Regions from separate parts of the Homo sapiens genome. Here region 2 is linked to region 1. Evidence: promoter capture Hi-C in 16 types of primary human blood cells and fetal thymus (Javierre and others, 2016). All regions are on one chromosome and are shown on one strand. Each heading gives the region's core, a stretch centred on a gene start or on the middle of the fragment in contact. The rest is flanking DNA. Distances are from core to core; before and after follow the strand shown.

Region 1 (2,700 bases), core at 29-2,528:
TGGGTTGGGTTGGGGGGAGGCGCTGCGTGGCCAGAGTACTCGCCACGGACCACCTGTTTTTTTGTTTTTTTTGAGACGGAGTCTTGCTCTGTTGCCCAGGCTGGAGTGCAATGGAGCGATCTCGGCTCACTGCAGCCTCCGTCTCCCGGCTTCACGCCATTCTCCTACCTCAGCCTCCTGAGTTGCTCGGATTACAGGTGCCTGCCACTACACCCCGCTAATTTTTGTATTTTTAGTAGAGGCGGGGGGGGGGTGTCACCATATTGGCCAGGCTGGTCTCGAACTCCTGACCTTGTGATCCACCCACCTCGGCCTCCCAAAGTGCTGGGAATTCAGGCGTGAGCCACCGCGCCCGGCCCAGACCACCTGTTTAATCCAGCTTCTCCCTAAGCATTGGGGAGCATCCTGCCAGCTGGTAGGAAAAAAAAAATCTCTAGAAATGTTCTCAACTATCCATAGACTTGACATGAGGATGGAGCGGATTCAGGAGCGCGGCCAGCATTGGTCTGGAGGCCCCGCGGCGTCCTTTGCATCCATTTGTGGGGCTGGAAGACAGATTCGCTGGGGGGAGAGGCCCCGGCGACCCCTGGACGGAAATCCCACACTGAGACCTGGCACCCTAACCAGACCCCACCAGAAGCTGCGAGGGCGTCCTCGGCCCCCTTAGAACAGCTTGGAACACACAGAGGAGTCAGTGTCCAGCCAGGCCCGGCCTGATGCAGTGAGGACGGCGGGTCCTATAAGCATCTCAGGGTCAGTGGGGCCCGGAGCGGCCTAAGGGTCAGGCTTCGTGCAGGGAGAGGAGGAGGGAAAGGCCGGGGAGGAACAGGAAGAGGGTGAAGAGCTCCGCGGGGAGGGGGCGGGATCCCTGGAGGTCTGGAGGGAATTTAGAACTGGGGAGGAGAGAAAATGCGGGCCGGGCTGCAGCCCGGGAAAGCGCCGGCTCAGCGGGCCCTTCTCCTTTCTTCACTTCGGCCGTGGGCTTTCCAGGGAGAGTGCGGCGTTTCGGGTCCGGCTTCTCGCCCAAGCAGTCACCCCGCGCACCGCGGCCGGCAGCTGCGGACCCCGCCTGGGCGGAGAGCTCTGGCCACCGCCGGCCGCAAACGGGGCGTGGCGAGGGCGGAGGGGGCGTGGCGAGGGCGGGCGGAGGGGCGTGGCGAGGGCAGCCGAAGGGGCGTGGCGCGGGCCGCGGAGGGGGCGTGGCAGGGCGGGGGAAGGGGCGTGGCGCGGGCAGGCGGAGGGGGCGTGGCGTGGGCGGCCCTACTGGGCCGGGCTCTGCTCTCCCCAGCGCCTGCCGCCGACGCCGCCGCCTCCTCCCGCCGCGCGGACCGTGGAGCGGGGTCGCAGCCGCCTGCCCGCCCTGCGGTGGGCCAGGATGTCGGGCTTCCTGGAGGAGCTGCTCGGCGAGAAGCTGGTGACGGGCGGCGGCGAGGAGGTGGACGTGCACTCGCTGGGCGCCCGCGGCATCTCGCTGCTGGGTCTCTACTTCGGCTGCAGCCTCAGCGCCCCCTGCGCGCAGCTCAGCGCCAGCCTGGCCGCCTTCTACGGGCGCCTGCGGGGGGACGCGGCGGCCGGGCCGGGGCCGGGAGCGGGGGCCGGGGCGGCGGCGGAGCCCGAGCCGCGGCGGCGCCTGGAGATCGTCTTCGTGTCCTCGGACCAGGACCAGCGGCAGTGGCAGGACTTCGTGCGGGACATGCCGTGGCTGGCGCTGCCCTACAAGGAGAAGCACAGGAAGGTGAGCGGCGCGGGCCTCGCCGGCCCCTGCCCGCCCCCCACGCCCGTTACCCCTGCCCGCCCCCCACGCCCGTTACCCCTGCCCTCCGCCAACCCCGTTGTCCCCCTGCCCGCCCTCCACCCCCCGACCCCTGCCCCCAGTCCCCCGCCCCCCGACCCACTGTCCTCTCCCCGCCCCCCACCCCGCCGTCCCCGCCTCTGCCCCCCCCCCTTCCGCGCTGTGCCCGCACCCTCATCCCAGGACCCCTCTTTGGTTCGAGTGCTGCGCTGCGCCCGCCCTGGAAAGTTGGACCCCCCTCGGCCCCCGGGATCCCGGCTCGAGCCCCTCCGTCCGCACACGCTGGGAGCCTCGGGTGGGGGCGGCTGCGCTCGGGGATCCCGGTTCCGCGACCCCTTCACCCGCGAGCAGAGGCGCCAGGCCCTTCCTGCCTCCGCCGCCGACCCCCGCGGATTCCCACAGTGGGGAGGGGAGGGGAGGGGAGGGCGCACGCCCCCCGCCCGTGGCGCCCAAACCAGCGCGTTTCCTTTCTTTCCGGGAGAAACCTGCCTTCCCGGAGCCCCTTCCCCGGGGACCGGGGACCTGGGGGCCGAGGCCGAGGTCAGGAGAGGCGGCCGGTGACCGTGGCCGTGGCTGTGGCCGAGAAGGGCGCTCACGGCTCCGTCTCCCGCCCCCGCCTCCCCCGCCCCAGGCTGAGTTCGCGGCCACCGGGGAGCTTTGCATTGTCTGGCCGTCCAGCCTCCTCCCCAGACGCCTCCCGGGCGCGGGAACAGCCCGGGCTGTGCAGAGCTCAGCTGCGTGGTGGCCCCTGTGGTCCCGGGGTCTTCGAGTTAAGGGCTGAGCTGACCCCATCGATGCACATTGACTGGAAGAAGGAGGATTTGGGGAAATGGATACTTTGCTGTCAACTTCTCGTGTCTCCCAGTTTGCTGCCGAGTTGAGTTTGGGTTTCTGAGTGTGTCCCTTGG
Region 2 (2,700 bases), core at 82-2,581, 830 kb after region 1:
TTTTTAAACCAGTTTCAATGCCCACCTGCCAGATGGACAGGAATTCCAGGGTCACCTGCTGGGTTGCCCAGAAAGCAGAGTCTTACCTGCTGTGACAGATGGTCTGGTCAACTTCCACAGGCAGGCGGGGGGCCATCTGGGCAGGGCCTGTCCACTGTACCACAAGCTCCTCCCTGCCACAGGTGGCTGCTGTGGGTGCTGCTGGACCCCTGCAGCTGGGTCCCACCTGCCAGCCGTGGGCCAGGTCACGTGGCCTTTCAAAGACAGGCCGAGCTGTGGGCCACTCCCTGTATCTGAGCCACGCCTCACCCGAGACCTCCACATCTGTTTCAGACACCCTGGGTGAGACACGACGGCTGCTGCTCGGGGCTCCTCAGGGGTCCCCGTCTCTGAAAGGCCCCTTCATGGACCAGGGGCCTCTTCCTCACTAAAGCAGAGGAAATAAGGGCACAGATTAGATGGTAAGAGGGGCACCCCTCAGCTGCATCCTAGACCTGGAAGAGAGTGTGACCTGTGCCCCAGAAGAAAGGGAGGGACGTATCTAGCGGTTGATGCTGAGGGCCAAAGCTAGATGGGTCAAGGCCTTTTGTCTGCACTATTATTTTTATTTGTTTTCTTTATTTCTTCCTTTCTTTTTTGAGACAGTGACTCACTCTGTCACCGGGCTGGAATGCAGTGATGCGATCACAGCTCACAGCAGCCTCAAACTCCTGGGCTCAAGCAGTCCTTCCCCCTCAGCCTCCTGAGTAGCTGGGACTACAGGTGTGCACCACCACGCCTGGCTAGTTGTTTTTTGTATTTTTTGTAGAGACTGGGTTTTGCCGTATTGGCCAGGCTGGTCTCAAACTGCTGGACTCAAACGATCCTCCTAGCTCGGCCTCCCAAAGTGCTGGGATTACAGGTGCAAGCCACCATGCCCAGCTAGCACCATTATTTTTATAAAGCTCATCTCTGGTGATACTTGCCCCAGTTTCCCCAGGCCGGAAGTTGACCCCAGGCCCAGCTCTTGAGGGTTTGATGGAAAACCCCAGGAGTAGCAGTGCCTGTGACAATCGCTGACATGTCGAGTTACACGTAATATCCCTGAGCTGCGCGATGGCTGCGTGTGACGCGCTCAGCAGCCTGTGCGGTCGCTCCTGTTGTTATCTCCATTTCATGCCCGTGAAAATGGCAGTAACTGGCAGCAACGTGCTGTGCCACCCTGGGCAACTCCCTTCTCTGGCTGTCTTATGTATAACCAGAAGGGGTTTCTTCTCAAAGCCACAGGCAAGCAGAAGGCACTGTGCAGAGGGCTCAGAGGTACACGGCACAGGGCGGCTCCGTGAGCCCCGGTGGCCAGGACCACTGTCCTGACAGCAAGGGAGGGAGAGACGCCACAGGGCGGGCCTCAGGGGCTTTGCAGGGTGGGCTTGTGCCAGAGTAGGGTATGCTCAGGGAGGGTGCTGAGGGATTTCCCCAGAGTGGTCAGGTGAGGAGGGAAGGGCACTTCTGGTAGAGAAAACAGCAGAACAGAGGGCAACGCTGGCGGAACTGTCCATGGCTGAAGGTGCCGAGGCTGGAGCCTGTCGTGGAAGTCTGGTGGCTGAGTGAGGGGTCACCAGATGGGCACAAGTTGTCCAGGCTGAGGGTGCAGAGATCCCAAAACAACTTTCCTTCCAGGGGCTTGTGAAGGCAGGGCACGCAGGACCCTTCTGTCCCTGCTCCTCACCCGTCACCAAACAGGCCAAGGACAGTTCACAGCAGACACAATATACCAATACCTAGAGAAATGGCCAAGGAGCATAGTAAGTAACTAAGGAAATCCGCTGTCTCCGGGTGGCGGGCTTAGGGGAATCCCCCCAAACTTTTTTAAAATCAGGTTTATTGAGGTACAGGTTGAGCGTCCCAAAGCTGTAAATCCAAAACCCCAAACATTCCAAGCACCGACATGACGCTCAAAGGGAATGCTTATTGGCGCGTTTGGGATTTCAGATTTTTGAATTTTTGAGTTAGGGATGCTGAACTGGTAAATATACTGCAAAGATTACAAAATATGAAAAAATCCAAAATTCAAAACATCTGGTCCAAGCATTTCAGATAATGGATCCTCAACCTGTATCATTCATATCCAGTGAGTTTTTCTTTTCTTTTCTTTTTTTAGAGACAGGGTTTTGCTCTGTTGTCCAGGCCAAAGTGCAGTGGCGCAATCATAGCTCATTGCAGCCTTGAACTCCTGGGCTCAAGCATCTTCCCACCTCAGCACTGTGAATAGCTGGGACTACAGGCATGCACCACCATGCCCAGCTAATTTTTAATTTTTTGGTAGAGATGGGGTCTCGCTGTATCACCCAGGCTGGGACAGTCTTGTTTCCACCACCAGAATCAACACAGAGAATATGACCCCAGAAAGTTCCCTGGCCCCAGGCAACCACTCACCTGTTTTCTGTCTCAATGGTGTTGCCGTTTCCAGACTTTCCCATGAAACAGTCAGATAGTGTGTTGCCCTGTGAGTCCGGCTTCTTTCACACGGAGGAATGCGTTTGAGATTCATCTGTCAGTTGCATGTACCAGGAGTTTGGTCCTTTTTGTTGCTAAGTGGTCTTCCATTGTGTGGGTAAACCACAAGTTTGTTGTTGATGAGTTCCCCAGTTGAAGGGCGTGTGGTTGTTTGCAATTTTTGGTGATGGTAGAAAGCTGCAATGAACAGGTTTTTGTGTGGAC

Evidence for each region. The method cuts DNA at HindIII sites, captures the fragments that hold promoters and counts their contacts. A CHiCAGO score of 5 or more calls a contact.
Region 2: a contact is called between a fragment that was not itself captured here and the fragment with the promoter of NXN in region 1, in 14 of 17 cell types (M2 macrophages, M0 macrophages, naive CD8 T cells and 11 more). The highest score is 18.0, in M2 macrophages.

Annotation. Positions count from the first base shown.
Region 1 is chr17:978,354-981,053 of GRCh38, reverse strand. It overlaps NXN (nucleoredoxin), which reads left to right and starts at 1,278. Exons shown (of 8, transcript NM_022463.5): 1 at 1,278-1,735. The coding sequence starts at 1,376. RefSeq lists enhancers at 1-5, 1,430-2,365. The HindIII fragment of the contact is 5,276 bases long and covers 1-2,700 here.
Region 2 is chr17:150,709-153,408 of GRCh38, reverse strand. The region is part of intron 6 of DOC2B (double C2 domain beta); the gene reads left to right. Among named protein-coding and RNA genes, the nearest start is that of SCGB1C2, 14 kb to the right of the region's middle. The HindIII fragment of the contact is 3,739 bases long and covers 1-2,700 here.